7 separate regions of the Homo sapiens genome follow, and all the other regions are linked to region 3. Evidence: promoter capture Hi-C in 16 types of primary human blood cells and fetal thymus (Javierre and others, 2016). All regions are on one chromosome and are shown on one strand. Each heading gives the region's core, a stretch centred on a gene start or on the middle of the fragment in contact. The rest is flanking DNA. Distances are from core to core; before and after follow the strand shown.

What was found. The method cuts DNA at HindIII sites, captures the fragments that hold promoters and counts their contacts. A CHiCAGO score of 5 or more calls a contact.
Region 1: a contact is called between a fragment that was not itself captured here and the fragment with the promoter of ERI1 in region 3, in 4 of 17 cell types (non-activated CD4 T cells, naive B cells, total B cells and 1 more). The highest score is 6.4, in non-activated CD4 T cells.
Region 2: a fragment that was not itself captured here is called in contact with the fragment with the promoter of ERI1 in region 3 in 1 of 17 cell types (total CD4 T cells); the score reaches 5.2 in total CD4 T cells.
Region 4: a contact is called between a fragment that was not itself captured here and the fragment with the promoter of ERI1 in region 3, in 2 of 17 cell types (naive B cells and total CD4 T cells). The highest score is 5.3, in naive B cells.
Region 5: a fragment that was not itself captured here is called in contact with the fragment with the promoter of ERI1 in region 3 in 6 of 17 cell types (naive B cells, total CD4 T cells, total B cells and 3 more); the score reaches 6.8 in naive B cells.
Region 6: a fragment that was not itself captured here is called in contact with the fragment with the promoter of ERI1 in region 3 in 5 of 17 cell types (total B cells, M0 macrophages, naive CD8 T cells and 2 more); the score reaches 10.1 in total B cells.
Region 7: a contact is called between a fragment that was not itself captured here and the fragment with the promoter of ERI1 in region 3, in 1 of 17 cell types (fetal thymus). The highest score is 5.4, in fetal thymus.

What each region holds. Positions count from the first base shown.
Region 1 is chr8:8,236,867-8,239,566 of GRCh38, reverse strand. It overlaps the pseudogene FAM86B3P and the pseudogene ALG1L13P. Among named protein-coding and RNA genes, the nearest start is that of FAM85B, 11 kb to the right of the region's middle. RefSeq lists enhancers at 1,061-1,390, 1,646-2,196, 2,197-2,700. The HindIII fragment of the contact is 2,166 bases long and covers 290-2,455 here.
Region 2 is chr8:9,743,654-9,746,353 of GRCh38, reverse strand. The region is part of intron 17 of TNKS (tankyrase); the gene reads right to left. Among named protein-coding and RNA genes, the nearest start is that of MIR597, 3.3 kb to the right of the region's middle. The HindIII fragment of the contact is 201 bases long and covers 1,250-1,450 here.
Region 3 is chr8:9,001,536-9,004,235 of GRCh38, reverse strand. ERI1 (exoribonuclease 1) reads right to left here and starts at 1,339. Exons shown (of 7, transcript NM_153332.4): 1 at 1,065-1,339. The coding sequence starts at 1,172. It overlaps LOC105379227 (a long non-coding RNA gene), which reads left to right and starts at 1,494. Exons shown (of 3, transcript XR_002956680.2): 1 at 1,494-1,575. The HindIII fragment of the contact is 5,155 bases long and covers 375-2,700 here.
Region 4 is chr8:9,770,165-9,772,864 of GRCh38, reverse strand. TNKS (tankyrase) reads right to left here. Exons shown (of 27, transcript NM_003747.3): 26 at 2,603-2,700. Among named protein-coding and RNA genes, the nearest start is that of MIR597, 30 kb to the right of the region's middle. The HindIII fragment of the contact is 3,049 bases long and covers 1-2,700 here.
Region 5 is chr8:8,290,038-8,292,737 of GRCh38, reverse strand. No RefSeq gene overlaps it. Among named protein-coding and RNA genes, the nearest start is that of FAM85B, 64 kb to the right of the region's middle. The HindIII fragment of the contact is 1,342 bases long and covers 688-2,029 here.
Region 6 is chr8:8,255,876-8,258,575 of GRCh38, reverse strand. No RefSeq gene overlaps it. Among named protein-coding and RNA genes, the nearest start is that of FAM85B, 30 kb to the right of the region's middle. The HindIII fragment of the contact is 4,421 bases long and covers 1-2,700 here.
Region 7 is chr8:9,833,875-9,836,574 of GRCh38, reverse strand. No RefSeq gene overlaps it. Among named protein-coding and RNA genes, the nearest start is that of MIR124-1HG, 68 kb to the left of the region's middle. The HindIII fragment of the contact is 431 bases long and covers 1,057-1,487 here.

The DNA.
Region 1 (2,700 bases), core at 123-2,622, 760 kb after region 3:
TTTTAAACACAGAGTTTGAACAACTGACTCTTCACGGACGCAACCTTCCTTCTCTTGTCTGTGTGATAACAGGTACTGCCTGGGACCCTGGGTGTCTGTTTGGCTGGGGGATGGCAGAGGGGGAGGGGCACGCAGCCTTCACCCTGTGCTTCCCACGATCTTGTCTCCTTAATCCTCACTGCAGCTCTCTGCCATAGGGTCTTATACTGCTTGACACGTGGGAAACTGAGGCTCAGAGGGTTTCACAGCAGGGCAGGGAGCCCAGATGTGAATCTGTAGATACCAAGCTTTCTACTTTTTCAGTAGTTTCCAAGCATCTTTTCTGTTGTTGTTATGTCATTGGTGTCTTTTTTTTTTTTGAGACAAAGTCTCTGTCTCCCAGGCTGGGGTGCAGTGGTGCGATCTCAGCTCACTGCAACCTCTGCCTCTCACATTCAAGCAATTCTCATGCCTCAGCTTCCCGAGTAGCTGGGACTACAGGTGCCCACCACACCCAGCTTATTTTTGTATTTTTAGTAGAAACAGGGTTTCACCATGTTGGCCAGGCTGGTCTTGAACTCCTGACCTCAAGTGATCCACCCGCCTTGGCCTCCCAATATGCTGACATTATAAATATGAACCACTGTGCCCGGCCATGTCATTGGTGCCTTAACCAAGCCTCTTTTAATTTTTCAAATGGAAGAGCCCCTGTCCCACAGTTACTGCTGCTGAGCCCTTTCAAGATGACTCAGTGAGGAGGGAGAAAAGCGGAAGTGGTGTAGGAAGAGGCGGGGTCTGGGCCAGCTGCTGGTCCTGCTCTCCTCCCTCCTCTGGCCTCTAGGCTCCCAGGAGTGGTTTGGAAAGCGCGCCATGTGCTCTGGAGGCTGTGGCAGGGCAGGCGCGGATTGGAACCCGCACCATGTGCTCTGGGGGCTGCGGCAGGGCAGGGGGAGTCCTCGTGTCCCCTGTGCACAACACAGACAGAAGGCTGGGTCCACCCAGTGGGTGGTCAGGTGCCAGGCCAGTGCTTACCCCACCATGTTTGCAGCCCGAGGCCAGCTGGCTGCAGGTGCAGGGCTATGCATCAGGGGTCAGGGTGCACACACCCCTGCAGGTCTCGGGGCTCCTGGGTTGCTTCTGGAAGGGCCCAGATGGGGCCTGACTGGAGCTGCCGAGGGGTGGAGCTTCTGGGAAAAGGATCCCTCCTAGGGGGAGTGTCTTGGGCCTGGGGCCATGTGGCAGGGACAGAGACGGGTCCATGGCAGTGTCTGCTCTTCTCTGTGAAGGCAAAGGGCCTCTGAGGGAGTATTACAGCCGCCTCATCCACCAGAAGCATTTCCAGCACATCCAGGTCTGCACCCACTGGCTGGAGGGCCGAGGACTACCCCCGCTTCTAGGTGAGAGGCCAGCAGGAGGCTCAGGGAGGAGGCGGGGACTTAAGCAGGGGTAACAGGCATGGGCATGATGTACTTTTTCTGAAAAGGTGGCTCTGGAGGCCACTTGGGGACAGGACTTGGGCTCTGGCTTAACTCCCAGGAGGAGGCTACTTCCTGGTGTGCCAGCCCCTCCCTGCCAGGTGGCCCCAGAGGCCCTTTACCAAGGGGTTTGAGGAGGCCACGTCCTTTCAGCCTGCCATGCCCTCCATTCAGTCCTCTTCCTTCCTGCAGGAGGCCTGGGCCTGGGGTTGGGGCCACTGTTGCCCAGGTGTGGGAGGGCAGTGGCTTTGGGAGGGGGTCGGGGGTCGCTTGGCCTCTGTGTGTCCTACTGTCTTTGTCGGTGAGATGGGACAATGACAGCACACCCTCACAGGTGCTGGGGGCTGACAAATGTCAGGTCTGAGGACAGTGGGTGGCCCACTACGGGGCCAGTTCCCCTTCTCTATAGTCACCCTGCTCGTCTTCCATCAACTGGGTGCTCAAGACAGTGGAGTGGAGGATCCGCCTGTACAGCCTGTGCTCCAGCGTCATGCAGGCCACAGCTCTGTCCAGCCCTGACCCCGACTGCCCCTCCTGCCACCTCCATTTTATAGATGAGGAAACCGAGGCCCAAGGGCTTAGGGAACCCTGCTCTGAAGCACACAGTAGGGCTGCTGGGCTCAGACCCTCCCTCCCTGTGCTGAGCTACCCTCCTCCTGCTGCAAGCCCCCAATGCCCCGAGCCCACCCTGCTCACCGGCCTCTGCCCGAGTTCCCCTCATGGTGTCGGAGTGTGGGGCATCCTAGCTCTTCCCTGGTGCCCAGCTCTTTCACTTCCACTGGAGTCCTGCAGTGACAGCTCAGGGACATACAGGCCCAGGCTGGGGTGGGGGCTCACCTAGCTCGGTGGTGAACAGCTGGCACGTCTCTCAATTGCGGACAGCGAAGGCCACGTAGACCTCAGAAGCCCGCTGGTGCTCCCGGCAGGCAGCCAGCCTCCGCAGGACCCTGACCAGTGACACAATGGCTTCTGGGCAATACAGCACATCTACGGTGAAAGCTTCAGGTTACTGAAAGGGACCAGCGGACAGTTCCAGGTCACGCTGACCTCAGCAGCAGGGCGAGGCCAGAGAGGCAGCGATCATATGAGACTATTAGATGCCTTTTGACCATTTGAGCCATTAGATGGAAAGGCAATTACTTGGGTGAAAAAGGAGAACCCTTAGTAGAGAAAGCTGCAAAAGACCGAAGCAAAAGAAAAAAATCTCCAGACTCACTGGTGTTCCTTACAAAAACAGCTCTGGTTC
Region 2 (2,700 bases), core at 101-2,600, 740 kb before region 3:
AGCTAAGACAATCGATCACACAATAGGCACTACTGATTCAACAAATAGGCTTTTTAAGAATATTAAAAATAACTTGTATATTTTTATAAATACATTTAGGATGTTAGGCTGGTTAGCACTTAAGTATTTCTGAGATCCATTTCAACTCCAGTATGCTATAATTTGGTGCAACTGGCACATTTGTGTCCCTTACAGACACATTTCTGGGCATAACTTGGTCAGTTTGGATAATTAACTCAAAAGCACATCATCTATTGAAAATAAATTTCTAACTCATGCTGCTGCTCGACTACCACACATTGAGGCTTTTAAGGAAGACATTTATGAGAATGGGAAAAGACAGGGAAGGCCAAGAAAGATCCCAAGATGCAACTTAATGCATGTCACTTTCTATCTTCCTTAAGATATCGTCTTCCCTGCACTCTTGAAGACACTCACTTCAAAAAGAACAGGCACTTTTTCTGAGGTAGTATTTAACTTTATGTAATATAAATATCTGTATTTCCTAATTTTAGAAATAGTAGTTTCTGAAAACAAAGTGAAGAACATTTATCTAAAAACAAAAGTACAGATCAGCCAACTACTAAGGAAAGCTTCCACATTTGCTCTAATAATACAAAGCAAAAAACGCCCCCAAAAACAAAAAATAGGCCAGGTGTGGTGGTTCAGGCCTGTAATCCCACCACTTTGGGAGGCCGAGGCCAGCAGATCATTTGAGGTCAGGAGTTTGAGACCATCCTGGCCAACATGGCGAAACCCCATCTCTGCTAAATACACAAAAATTAGCTGGGTGTGGCGCCACACACCTGTAATCCCAGCTACTTGGGAGGCTGAGGCAGGAGAATCGCTTGAATCTGGGAGACGGAGATTGCAGTGAGTCAAGATTGCACCACTGCTTTCCAGCCTGGGTGAAGAGTGAGATTCCATCTCAAAACAAAACAAAACAAAAAACCCCATAAACAAAAAATAAAATAAATAAGCAGCATAATCAGACTAAGTCTTCTCAGAACAGGATGTTTTGTGATTCTTCTGGGATTATAATATCACTATAAAATTAATTCTATAGCTTAATTATTTTTAAATTTTCTAACACAAAAGATGAAAACAGAGGTACCACTCGTGGTATTATCAAAATCACCTAAAACAAAACCAAACCTAGTAATTTATCTCCCTTATTCAAAGGCTATATGTTGAAAAAAGGCAGCAATTTTTGTTAAGTTAACCCAAAAGCACGGAATAATTTCAAGCTTCTCCCCAGTGAGGTTACAAGCTACTTAAACTGTGTTTCTGATGATTAATTTTATTGAACTCCCATGTTTACAGGCCGAATAATATAATCTGGTAGACTAATTTACACAGGCTTCCAAAATTACAAAAAGTCCAAGGAAAATTACCTGTTTCTGTATGTGTGTATAAAATGAATTGTATATCTGGTATGTATTATTAAGCTTTCTTTATATTGAAGTTATAGTTTATGCTTGGACAAACCAACTACATGCTTGTGAAATTTTCTGACAAATGTCTGAAAGAACAATGAACAGGAAGGAGTATATTACTACCCAAATAGACTAAAAATACAGTTCTTAAGCTGTTTAATTCTTTTAAATAGCTACACCATTGAGGCAAAAATAGTAACTGGAATTTAAGGCTGACAAATCCAATAAATAGCAGTTCAGTTCTATTCAACACAGTATATAAGAGCAAAGTATTGAACTAGAAGGTCCAGAAAAGAAACTGATCTCTGTTGGAATGTTTCCAGGAGAAACAGACAATTTAACCTAGTTTCAGAATCCAGCTGCAATACAAAATGCTTTAAATGACAAATACAACCTAAAAAGACTGGGAAGCTTTTAATTTTAAAAAGGTGGGAAGTAGGGGAAAGAGAAACATGCTTGGCTTCAGTTAAAGCCATTTAATTGTACAGAGGCTTTATTACAATTATGTCATGAAATTCCCCAAATGTTATCCATTTTAGAGAAAGCACTGGAAAATAAAAACAGTTGAGAGAAAATGAATCAGTCAATTGATTTACTCTTATAAGATATAAATTTACATGCTTTGTGGTAATAAGTATCAATGCCATTTACTGACTTAGCAGAAAAGTTAACTGTCTTGTATAAACATGTATTCAAATATAACACAAGGCATTATTATATAAAGAACACCGACACAGTAAGGCACACTACCACTAATATCAACTCTCATGCAACTTGTAATTTTTATTGATGCTTCTTAAATAAATATGTATTTTTTTCTCCATTTGGAAAAACTGAGGTTCTTTTTATACAAAAAAGGCTCAAAGACACACACAGAGCAGATTGAGCTCTCTAGGGGAAAAAAGTAAATAAGTATGAAGGAATAATGATCAATAAATAACTACATAAGTAAATAACTATGTAATTTCACAGCTACCTCAGATTATTATTTCATCCTCAGCCTAGTCAATTAATCTGTGTTTATTTAACACAGCACTGAGCCAGTCAAATATATAGATTATTCCTAAGGCTGTGAAATGTAGGAGTGACATGCAGCCCTTATTCTGACTGGCTTAGTACAGGAACTGTGGGAAGCAAGGAATTTACTAATTTTTAATATCTATACATCTATAGATATGGATATGTATTTTTTGGTAGAAATGGGGTCTCGCTATGTTGCCTAGGCCGGTCTTGAACTCTTGGGCTTGAAAGATCCTCCCGCCTC
Region 3 (2,700 bases), core at 90-2,589:
ACAAGAGAAGGGATGTGCAAGTACTCTTTGAAATAACAACCTTAGAAGGAGAAAGATAATTGCAAGGATCCAAAGGAAGTGCACACAGGGCAAAAGGAACATACAGAGATCCTTAACGAGACCTTCTTTCCAATGTCAAAGAACACAAGGCAGCGAGGGGCACTGGGAACAAAAGGGAAAAAACTGTGTGAGATGCAATTACCAAGGGAGGCAGGCACCCGACCCCGCAGAGCAGCAAATGGAAGTGACTCAGGAGGGGAATAAGCCAAATTCATGTTATTGAAAAGCTCATTCTAGCTGCCAGATGGAAACTGACTGTGGACGGAAGGAGCAAGAGTTAGGAGGCCTCTTGCAAATACGCACTTTATGAAGCTTTACGAAGTGTTCAACATGTTTATTATTAGGAAAAGATCAATTTTAGTATTCAATCACTTACAATCCGCAGCGCTAGTCAACAATTAACATTCGTTAAATAAGTTTTAAGACTGTTCTACAACTTTGCCACTGTAACTAAGTTCAACCGATGAGATGTCAAAATGATTCATTCAATCTTATACTATGGTTATATGAGACACCAGTTAATGAGCAAAAGCAGCTAAGACGAAGCTCCACTTAACAGGTACAGAGACAGGGATGCTGGTGAGTGCTTTTTAAATTTTTTCTTTTTTTAAAAACAGGCATGAAGTGACATACCTAGCGTATATGGTGAGATTTTAAAAACATAAAGCCTTGCAAACTACCCATAACGGCTACATGGAGTGACAACAGCAACCGTGAACACAGAATTAAGTTTAAAGCAAAACTCCCTCTTAGAACCTGTTAACCCACTGTAGACAGAACTGGTCTTGACGATTTCCTCCCTCCCAGAGAGTGATTCGGCCCTGAGGGGGCTCCAAGACACCCACCCGAGGATAAAGCCAGGGAGCTGGGCACCGAGGAAGAGGCTGGGGTCCAAGGGCGCACAGCTGCACCTTCTGCGGGACACCTGAGAAGAAAGGGGTGCCGAGGGCGCTTTGGGGACGGGGCAGCTGGCGCCAACAGCCAGGCGCGGGTCGACTCCTCACCTCGGGACTGGGACGCGGCGGCTCCTCCCCGCCCTCCGGCCGCGGCGACTCCAGCAGCGCGAGAGCCACGGCCTCGCCGGCAGGCTCTTTACTCTGTGGATCCTCCATGCCGGCTGTCACGCCAGAGGAGAGTTGCTGGAGCCGGACACTTGCTAACTCTCACTCTGCAGAGCCCGAAAGCCTCGCCTTTCTCCGTTGAAAAATTACCGGGCTCGCGTTCCCGCGGCGGCGGCCACACAAACTCCAGCGGCCACCTCCCACTTCCGGGAGCGTGTGGCGTCCACACGCCGGGCAGGCGCAGTGAGCCGGCGTGCGCGGAACGCCAGCGCCGCAGTCCACAGGGGGAGGGAGGACGAACAAGAGGGAGGCGCGCCGGTGAGAAGACGGGGCGTGGCCGGCCGTAGGCGGAGCTAGCGCGGGTTGAAGTTGCGCAAGGATCTAGTCCAGTCACTGGAGGGTAGCACCGGCACGTGTGTTCCCGTCAGTGTTTCCTGAGAAGGAAAAAAGTAGGGTGAGTGGGAAGATATCATAGAGAAAGATGTTTTCGACCATAAAAAATAATAAAACAATTCACATTTTCCATAAGGAGTTTCCTAAAACTTCCACTCTGGGCAAGAAAAGAAAATGGGTCGGGACTTAGTGTCCCACTATAAACAATTAGAAAACGGAACAAAATATAGGAGACACCTATTCAGACATTGGACAACGGACAGCTGTGGACTGTTTTACCTGAGAGAAAAGAAATAAAAGGAGCCGTATATCATCCTGCCCTTTTGCCCAGAGGCGATTTCCAGTCTGTGGTGCGATGAAAGGAAATCATATGGAAACCTAGGATCTCCTGGGTTGAAAAGACAGAGATTGGAGTTGACGAAATTGGGGTAGGCCAAGTCGGTTGGAATTTGTAGGGCAGAATTCTGGAGAGGAGGGAATTACATGGAAAAAGAGCTTCAGAAATCTGCTTAGGAGTACCTTGAATCTTTAACTGAATAAAAAACGTGAAACTCCACAAGGCCAGGAAAGAACAATTACTGGGGAGCAGTACACCAAACAATGGTGAGAGGTCACACAGAACTGGGAATCATTTGAGCTCCCAGCAACCAGAGTGAAGAGATTATTGAATACCATGGAACACGCAATAGAAACCTCAGATGTGAAACTGCCATTGCAAAATTATCATTGAGACAGTGAAAGAGATCAGACCTAACCAACTCCATCTTGCTTTTAACCTCCAGGCTATCCTTATTCATTCCTAGGCGTAGGCCAAACTAACACTGGGAGGAACTTAGTGTATAGCTTATAGTTTAAAACAAAGGTGATAGCCCTTTCTCAAAATAAACCCTCTTCTTGAGACTAGACTGCTTTTGTAGGACTAGTAAATTAGCCGAAAGATTAGAAATTATGATTTAGGACTCATGCAGCTGAAGGCTACAAGATTCTAACCCTCTCCAAATTGCTCCTGGGGATAATATCACTATTGTAAAATCTAAGATCAGTGCTTGAGATATTTTGCAGGCCCTGCACTTGATGGATCAGCTGGCACCTCCCAGATTGATAAACTGACTCACCTGATCTTGGATAAACTAGCTCATCTGATTTTGTGTCCCCCACGGGAGGAACTGACTCAGTGCAAGAGGAC
Region 4 (2,700 bases), core at 24-2,523, 770 kb before region 3:
CACTACACACACACACACACACACACACACACAGACACACACACACACACACACAAACACACACACACACATTCTCCCCAAAACGTTTACAAGTTATATACATCATCATGGTCCTTTATCCCTAAATATGCCAGTATATATTTTCTAAGCATAGACATATTGCCTTACGTAAGTACAGAATCAACCTTATAATTTTACATTGATACAATCCTTTTATTTAATGTCCATATTCCAATTCTGTCAGTTGATCTAATAATGTACTTTCTCTTCCAATACTGGATGCAGTTGGGGGCAGAAGGTTAACTTCGTTTTCATGTCTCTTGGGCCTCATGTAATCTGGAAAGTTAGCACAGCCTTTCTTTTATAATATTAACATTTTTGAAGAATACAATCTTTCAACATTAAAAAAAGTAAAACATTCCTCATTTTGATTAGACTTACATCATGTATTTTTGGCTGGAATGCTGCAGAGATGTCGTGCCTTTAGAGTATCCACCTAGAGAGATAATATAAGCCTATCTGTCCCTCATTGGTGATGTTGATTTTGATTATCTGGTCAAGGCATTGTCCCCTTTCTCCAATATATAATTACTCCTCCCCCCAGCCCCCTTTGAAAGTAAGTCTGTAATAAGAAAACCACGCAAATATTCTTCTCCTTAGTGAAACAATCCCCATATTTAGCATCCATTAATAATTCTTGCCTGGTCTAATAATGGGTACATGATGAGTCCCATGTCATCCCTCCCTCCACCCGTCCTTCCCTGTTTCTCCCTCCCTCCTTCTCTCTCCCTCTCTCCCCCTCCATCCCTCCCTACCTCTGTCTCCTCTCACTCCCTCCCTTTCTCCCTCCCCCATCCCTCTGCCTATCCCTTCTTCCCTCCCACCTCTTTCTCCCTCTCACTCCCTCCCACTCCCTCCCTCTCCCCCTCCCTCCCTCTTCCTCCCTCTCTCCCCATCCCTTCCTTCTGCTCTCCCTCACTTTCTCCCTCCGTTCCGCTCTCTAGCTCTCTCTCCCTCCCTCCCCTCTCTCCCCGCTTCATTCCCCCTTCTCCCTTCCTCCCCCACTTCCCTTCTCCTCTCTCTCCTGCCTTCCTTTTTTTCTCTCTCCTTCCTCCAATCCTTCCTTTCTCACTCCCTGTTCCTTCCTCTCTCGCTTTCTCCCTTCCTCTCTCTCTCTCTCTCTCTCCCTCCCTTCCTGCCTCTCCCCTCCATTCATCCCTCTCTCTCTTTCCCTCCCTCTTTCCTTCCTCTCTTCCTCCCTTCTTTCTTTCCTCTCCCTTTCTCTCTTCCTTCCTCTCTCGCTTTCTCCCTTGCTTCCTCTCTCAGTCTTTCTCCCTCCCTTCCTCTCTCTCCCGTTCTTTCCTTCCCTTTATCTCTTTCCCCCTTCCTTCTTCTCTCCCTCCCTTCTTCTCTCTCTTTTCCTTTCCTCTGTCCCTCCCTTCCTTAGTATCTGTCTCCCTTTCTTTCCCTCCCTTTCTCTCTTTCCCTCCCTCCCTTCCTCTCTCTCTCCCTCCCTGCTTCCCTTCCTCTCTCTCCCTCCTTTCTTCTCTCTTCCTTCCTTCCTCTCTCCTCCCTCCCTTCCTCGCTCTCTCTTCCTCCCTCACTTCCTTCCTCCCTCCCTCCTTTCCTCGCTCTCTCCCTCCCTTCCTCTCTCTCTTCCTCCCTCACTTCCTTCCTTCCTCTCTTCTCTCCCTCCTTTCCTTCCTGTCTGTCTCTCTCTCTCTCCTTCCCTCCCTTCCTTGGTTTCTCTTTCTCTCATATACACACACATGCTTATATTACTACTTACCCATAAATTTACATGGGTGTACACACACGTTAGAAACCATGAGATCATAGTAATACTTCCAATTTCAGTCCACCCTTAGAGTCTTTCTTACCTTCTCCATTCCATATTTGTATGTCCCTTCTTCTACCATGAGAATTTTGGCTCCTCAAATCAATACATCAACACATCCGCTCATGTGCTCAATCCTATAATATGCTTAAGAGTTTCACTGTTTTGCCCACGGTATCTCCATCAACACATTTACTAAAAGGAGTTCAGGATTCCTTTGTCAGTCTTCCCCCAACAGCATTCCCTACCCTGCCCATGACTGAAGGCACAGTATAAAATACTGTTTTCATAGGTTATATATATTTAGTTATTTCCTTCTTTATTTTTCTCTTTTATTGTAGTTATGGTATTCATTTGAAGTTCACTTACATTCAGACAAATTGTTTTTGTTTTTGGACAAATCCTGTGGCATGTACATCCATGAAGACCCACTAACAGCAGCTGCCCTGGCATGCTGCCCACGAAGTGGCACAAGGCATTAGTTCAGAGCTGCAGGCCTCAAAACGGCATGAGGGCCCAAGCCTTTGTTTCTCAGCTGCCCTCTTGTTCACACTGTGTTATGTGGCTGACAGCTACTAATGGGTTTTAGGTAAAAAGTTGATGTCAAAGAATTATTTTGATACCTTTATTTTGTATCTGAAGTAATTAATACTAGCACACTGTGTGGTGGATATTTCACTGAAAAGTGTCTCAAGTCTTACACGGTCTCTGTGCTCTATTGACATGTTTGTGAACTTGGTTATGCTTGTTTGATGAGTAACATACCTGTTCTCCTCTGTAGATGACATATTCAGCATATGCCAGCCCATTGACGCTCGGTCTACCAATGACTGAGTGGTGCCCTGGAGGCGCGTGGGCCATTT
Region 5 (2,700 bases), core at 109-2,608, 710 kb after region 3:
TTCTCACCAGCCAGCGTTGCATTAGCTAGAGTATGTTGACAGTGCTGTCTGAATACATCAACTCTGGGACCCAGACGTGGCTTTGGCAAACAGCAGTCTATTTCCACGAAAACCCAAGTGACTCCCGGGGAAGAAAAATACACACATAAGTAAAACTTGTCCCAAGGGGAAAGAGGAGCAGGCCGGCCCATGTCTTCCAAGACTGAAGAGTCAGTTATCCGGGAGAAGAATGGCTGTGTTTGTCTTTCAGATCTTTCCCTGGTCCAGCCTAGTGGACTCATGCCTGAATCTTATTTTAAATAGAGTAGGGGCTGGGTGCGGTGGTTCACACCTGTAATCCCAGCACTTTGGGAGGCTGAGGCAGGTGGATCACTTAACGTGAGGAGTTCGAGACCAGCCTGGGGAACATGGTGAAACCCCATCTCTACTAAAAATACAAAAATTAGCCAGGTGTGGTGGTGGGAGCCTATAATCCCAGCTACTCAGGAGGCTGAGGTGGCAGAATGAATCGCTTGAACCTGGGAGGTGGAAGTTGCAGTGAGCCGAGATCGTACCACCATACTCCAGCCTGGGCGATAGAGGGAGACTCTGTCTCAAAAAAAAAAAAAAAAAAAAAAAAAAAGAGTAGAGGTAATCATATAATTAAAAGTGAAAATGCCTGTTTCTCAAAACCTTTGGGTATAAGCTTTATACCCAAACTTCTGGACCAGTTTAATGGAGTACAGCCCTCAAAGGGAGGCAAGAATTCTCTCCCACTTTTCCAAGGAATATTATGCAGTTCAGCATCTCCTCCCCAACCCTGAGGTTCCAGTACCTCAGCATCTGCTGTATGGGCTCTAGGGTGTCTGCAGTGAAAGCAGCTAATTGGAGGCAGTGATGTCAAGCAGGGCCAGAGAGGGTGGCAGGGGCTGCAGCACCAGCAGCCAGGCGATGCTCAGCCTGAGCATGGCCAATGCACCCTGTGTAGCATCCAGGAGAGGCAGCACATCCCTACCAGAGCCATGGTACAAAATACAAGCCACCTGGGTATCTGGAAGCGAGGGTGGGGCTTGGTAATAATTACTAAAGCATGCAGCACAGCAACAGCCAAAGAGAAGAAAGGGAAAAAAGTGAAATATGTAATCTTATTCACAAATAAATATAAGAACAAATTCCACTGAATCCCTGAAAACAAAATGTGGGGCGAGGGCAGTAAACGCAACTGACTACTGTAAATGCAACCTCACCTTAAAAGATTACCAACTAGCTAAGCATGGTGGCCCACGCCTGTAATTCAAGCACTTGGAGGCTGAGGTGGGTGGATCATTTGAGGTCAGGAGTACGAGACCAGCCTGGTCAACATGGTGAAACCCCTGTCTCTACTAAAAATACAAAAGTTAGCCAGGTGTGCTGGTGTACATCTGTAATCCCAGCTACTCAGGAGGCTGAGACAGATGAATCGCCGGAATCCGGGAGGCAGAGTTTGCAGTGAGCTGAGATTTGACTATTGCACTCCAGTCTGGGTGACAGAGTGAGATCCCATTTCAAAAAAAAAAAAACAAAAATTACCAACTACTAGCCTTATGGAGCAATATTTAAGTTGTTTTTATTTTGACTTAGACTTTAGGGCTAAATCTATGTTTTAATGAAGAAAAAATGTGTTCATAAATAATTATTTTCCTCAGAAGAAAAACATATTTTCTTTTATCACGTTGCCAGCCCAAAGGAGAGCTCATGTTTAAAAAATCACAGTGTTAGTTTATGACCAGCCTGGGCAACACAGCAAGATCCTGGCTCTACCAGAAAAAAAATTTTTTTTTAATTAGCCAAATGCAGTGGCACATGCCTGTAGCCCCCACTACTCCTCAGGAAGCTGAGGTGGAAGGATCACTTGAACCCAGGAGTCCAAGGCTGCAGTGAGCTATGATCATGCTACTGCACTCCAGCCTGGAAGACAAAGCGAAAACAACAATAACAACGACAACAGCAACAAAAAGCAAAAATCACAGCGTGTCTTAGGACTCATGTTCACTTTCATTTTTTTAAAGCTTTGCTAATTACTGATTAATCTTTTCTATTCCCTGTTGCTTAAACAATATTAGAATGTTTCTGTGCACAAAATCCAAGACTCAAAAACACAAAATAAAATTTGATGGCTTTTAAGTAAAAATTTGTTACTCAACTTATTTTTACCGCGATTTAGATTCATTGTGATGTTGGAGGTATGACCTTATCTATTCATCTGAATGACATTTTGTTTCAACAAAAGGGCAGTGCTCTCAATGTCAAATAATAAGATAGAAATCTTTAATCCCTTTAGTCCTTCTGTATACCTAGGTCATTTTATTTTAGAGTGTATGTGTACAGAGAGTATACTCAACTAACCCTCATAGTGATTACACTGGTTGTACCTAATGCAACAAATACTATTCAACTTTAACAAAATAAGAATTTTATACTGTCTGGCTTATTCTTAATTCTTCCCTAAGGGCCTATTTGGTTTAGCATCAAATACAAGATTAAGAGACTCTAAACGTTAGCTGAACAGCCACTCAAGGGATTTAGACATGATCTCTTTACACAAAAGAGTTAGCATACATCTGATATCCCCTGCACAGAGAACACATGTTTATACATATAATAAATCTCCTTTTCCTACCGATGATTATTTATTTGAAAGCAAAATGAAAAACAACCTTATCGTATCCTCAAAAAAAATCT
Region 6 (2,700 bases), core at 116-2,615, 750 kb after region 3:
AGATCATGCCACTGCCCTCCAGCCTGGGAGACAGAGCGAGACTCTGCCTCAAAAGAAAAAAAAAAAAACAAACAAAAAAAAACCAGAATGTTCTAAAAACTTCATGCTTTCATGCTAATAAACATTCAACAACTTAAATGTACACATTTCTTGAAAGACACAAATGAGCAAAGTCCACTCACAAAATAAATAATATGAATAGCTCTCTATTAAAGACATTGAAGTTGCCATTAAAAACCTTCCTCAAAAAACAAAAAACAAAAAACTTCAGGCCTACATGGCTTCACTGGTGAATTTTACCAAATGTTTAAGAAGCAATGACACCAGTTGTACACAAACTCTCCCAGAAAAGGAAAGAGATAGAACTCCTTCTTAACTCATCCTATGAGGCCAGCATTACCTGCTACCAGACAACAACATGACTAGAAAAGGAAACTACTAACCAATGTCCCTCATAAACATAGATGCAAAAATTCTTATCAAAACTTTATTAAACTGAATCCAATTATATACAAAAAGCATAGTAGATCATGACTAAGTGAGTTTCCTCTCCCATGAATGGAAAGTTAGTTTAACATTTTAAAACTGATCAATGTAAGTAAATATATCAACAATTTAAAAAGTAAGAATCATACTATCATCTCAATTGATGCAATAAAAGCATTTGACAAATCCAGCATCTATTCCTGATAAAAACTCTCAACAAACTTGGAATAGAAGGGCACTTCATCCACCAGATAAAGGATTTACCTTTATCAGATAAGAAAAACATAGACTCACCCCTACTTAATGGTGAAAGACTGAATGCTTTGTCCCTGAGAATAGGAACAAGACAAAGATTTATGTTATCAATTCTCTTCATCATTGTCCTGAAGGTACTAATCAGTGTGATAAGGAAAAATAAATAAATACAATAAAAGACATTTAGATTTGAAAGAAAAAAATAAACTCTCAATTCACTAATGACATCTTGTTAAAAATGCGAAAAAAATCTACCAAAAAACTATTAGAACTACTATGTGCATTTAGCAAGGTTGCAAGATATAAGGTCACTATACAAAAATCAGTTACAATTTTATGTACTAACAACAATTGGAGATTGAAATAAAAAAAGGTCACTTGACATTTGACAAAAATGTCAAATACTTTGGGATTCATCTGTCAGAAGATGTACAGGACCAGTAAACTGAAAATATCAAAATATTCCTAAGAGAAATTAAAGATCTAAATAAATGGAGATATATACATTGTTGGTAGATCAGAAGACTCAATAATATTATAATGTCAATTCTCTCAAAAAAAATTTTTTTTTGAGACAGAGTCTCTCTCTGTCGCTCCAGGCTGGAGTGCAGTGGAGCAATCTCGGCTCACTGCAACATCCACCTCCCAGGTTCAAGCAATTCTCCTGCCTCAGCCTCCTGAGTAGCTGAGATTACAGGTGCACACCCCCATGCCCAGCTAATTTTTGTATTTTTAGTAGAGACGGAGTTGCACCATGTTGGCCAGGCTGGTCTCGAACTCCTGACTTCAAGTGATCTGCCCATCTTGGCCTCCTGAAGTGCTGGGATTACAGGCCTGAGCCACCGCGCCTGGCCAATTCTCTCAAAACTGATCTAAAGAGTCAATGCAGTCTGTAGAAATTTTTGTTAAAATGTACTAGATTATTACATACTTTATAAGGAAATATAAGTTATCTTAAATAGCCAACACCTTTGAAAAATAACATAGTTGGAAGACTTACATTACCTGACTTCAAGGTAAATGTTAAAGCTAGAGTTGTCAAAACAGTGCCGTATTGGCATAAAAATAGACAGATCAATGGAAGAGAACAGAGTCCAGAAATAGGCCCACGCACATACAGTCATTTGTTTTTTAACAAAGGTGCAAAGGCTATTTAGTGGAGAAAGGATAGTCTTTTTAATAAATGGTGTTGGAAAAATTATATATTTTTATTTTTAAAAAAATCTTGTTTCATACATCACAATATATACAAATATTAACTCAAAATGAATGAGGCCTACTTGGAATGACAAGTAAACGTAAAACAAAAACTGTAAAATTCCTAGAAGAAAACATGCAAGAAAATTTTTGTGAGCTTGAGTTAGGCAAAGATTTCTTAGATATACAACCCACAAGTGAAAAGCTGATAAATTGTGCATCATCAGAAATACCTTCTGGTCTTTGAAGAATGGTGTTAAGATAATGAAAATTATATACAGTAGCTGAAAAACATAGCATTTAGATTATATAAAGAACCTCTAGAAGACATTATTAGAAAACAAATAATGCACTTTAAAAATGGGCCCAGATTTGAATGGACACTTTACCAAAGAAGCTATATGAATGGCAGATGAGCAAGTGAGCTGATTCTCAGCATAATTAGTCATTTGGGAAATGAAAATTAAGGTGATTTCGGACCACATAGTTATTAGAATGTTTAAAATTTAAAAGTCTGAACATACCAAGGACAGGATATATCCATAAGGTAAGGATAGGGAGGAAGTGGGACTCTCATCCACTGCCAGTGAGAAGGTAAAATGGTACAACCAATTTAGAAAACAGTTTAACAAGTTCTTTAAAAATTGAATATCCTTCTCTCATATGACCCGATCACTCAATTTCTTGTTATTTAGCGACAAAAAAAAGAAAGCATATGCTCATATAGAGACTTACATACAAATGTTTCTTGCAGTTTTATAT
Region 7 (2,700 bases), core at 23-2,522, 830 kb before region 3:
TTAATTTTATTTTAAACCTCGCAAGGTATTATTATTGTTTTATCTAACCAATGTTAATATAGATTTTATCTAGATATTTACCACTTTTTTTTTTTAAGATGGAGTTTTGCTCTTGTCACCCAGGCTGGAGTGCAGCGGTGCAATCTCGGCTTACTGCAACATTTGTCTCCTGGGCTCAAGCAATTCTCCTGCCTGAGCCTCCCGAGTAGCTGTGATTACAGGTGCCCACCACCACATGCAGCTAATTTTTGTATTTTTAGTAGAGATGAGGTTTCATCACGTTGGCCAGGCTGGTCTCGAACTCCTGACCTCAGGTGATCCACCTACAACTGTCTCCCAAAGTGCTGGGATTACAGGCTTGAGCCACCATGCCCAGCCAATGTTTACCACTTTTTGTTCTATATTCATTTCTTCCATTTAGTATCATATGATTTCTGTTTGAAATATATCCTTTAGAATTTGCCTCATTGAGAATTTGATAATGAAAAACCCTTCATTTTGTCTGTATGAAAAATATGTCTATTTCAAAATCATTCCTGAAATAGCTCTTTCTGGTATATAAAGTAGTAGTTATTTTCTTTTAATGCATTGACAATGCCATTCCATTGTCTTTGGTTTCCCATTGTTGCCATTGAGAAGTCAGCAGTTGGTCTCACTGCTGCTCCTTTGAAGATGTCTTTTTCCTCTGGTTGTTTTGTTTTGTTGTTTTGTTTTTGACACAGGGTCTCGCTCTGTCACCGAGGCCAGAGTGCAGTGGTACAATCACAGCTCACTGTAGCCTCAAACTCCTGGACCCAACAATCCTCCCACCTCAGCCTCCCAAGTAGCTAGGGCTGCAGGTGTGCACCATGATGCCCAGCTAATTATTATCCTTTTTTTTTTTTTTCAGAGATGGAGTATCAGTACGTTGCCCAGGCTCCTCTGAAACTCCTGGCGTCAGGCAATCCTCTTGCCTCAGCTTCTCAAAGTGCTGGGATTACAAACATGAGCCACCATGCCCAGCCTTTTCTGGGCATGGTTGTTTCTAAGATCTCCATTGTTTTGATCTTTTAAGCTTTACTGTAATCTCAGTGTAAATTTTTTTGTATTGAACCAGTTTGCGATTCACAGCAAATCTGTGGTTTGCTCTCTCAGCACTTCTAAAAAATTATTCACCTTTCTCTGTTCATACGTTGCTGCTGCCCCATTCCCCCCTACTTATAGAACATCAATAAAATATATGTTAGACTTTTTCTCTCTGCCTATTAATCATTTTTCTATGTATTTGATCTTTTGTTTCTCTGCGCTACTTTCTGGAAAATTTTTTGTGCCTATTTTCAAGGTGATTAATTATCTCCTCAGCTATGTCTAACATGATTGTGAACCAATCTGGTGAACTTTTAATTTCAGGATTGTGTGTTCTATTTCTAGAAGCTATATTTGTTTTTTCTATTATATTTGCTTTTTGTTGTTGTTTACTTCTATTTCCCCGTAGATGCATCCAAGCTTATGTTTTGTTCATTTAAATATAGTAAGAATGACAGTTGTTTAATTGTGTTCAACTGTTTCAATTCTTATTGGAATTTTAATATTCCAATGACATCTTTGTGGACTTTGTTCTGTTGTTTTTCTGGTTCTTAGTTATGTTTTGTTCTCCTTTTGCATTTATTATTTTTGTGTACTGCTATTATACTAACAATAATTATTGTCAGGCATGATACTTACACCTGTAATCCCAGCACTTTGGGAGGCTGAAGTGGGTGAATCACTTGTGCTCAGGAGTTCAAGACCAGCCTGACCAACATGGTGAAACTCCATCTCTACTAAAAATACAAAAAATTAGCCAAGCATGGTAGCAGGCCCCTGTAATCCCAGCTACTTGGGAGGATGAGGCAGGAGAATCACTTGAACCCAGGAGACAAATGTTGCAGTGAGCCGAGATTGTGCCACTGCACTCCAGCCTGGGAAACAAAGTGAGACTCTATCTCAAAAAAAAAAATTATTTATAGGAAGCACTTAGACATTGGGTGAAGCTTCTTTTCCCCAGAGAGGATTTGCACATGCTCCTGCCTGCAGTAGAAGCACTACCCATCTAGGAACTGCTTGAGGTTTCCTGAACAAACCAGATATGAAAACCTGAGGGCTAGTTCACCCTTATGCTGAAGATACAGGCCTTTGGATTTCTGATAATATTCATCATTCAAACTATGCTTTCTTGGGAGCTTCTTTTCTTAAAGTACCATAAATCATACAATATTCCACGTGGAAAAATTCATGACTTTAACAAAGGATAAGACAATGATGTCTGGGTTCTTTCTTTTCAATAATATTCCCTATGAGATTAAGAAGATTGCAGCCTCTTTAAGCCAAAACAATATGCTATTTCAGTTTCCTTGAGAAATAGTTTATAAAACAAAAACAGTGTACAATTCAGGAGATATTTATTAAGTGTCTGCCACAGACCAGGTGCTATGGTGCTAGGAATACCATGGTGAGAATTACAGAAACCAGCCTTCCAATGACTACTGAACTTCTTTCCTGCATATAATTGGTGGCTTAAAGATTATCTTATTATTTTGATTTGGAACTGTAAGGGTAAAATAAATAAATCATCACATTTTCATTATTTTCCATTTGCTACTATTCCTCAGGGAGCTCAAAGCCTATTTGGGGAGAAAACATAAAACAGCATGGATAATTCAATTATCCACTCTTGTATAT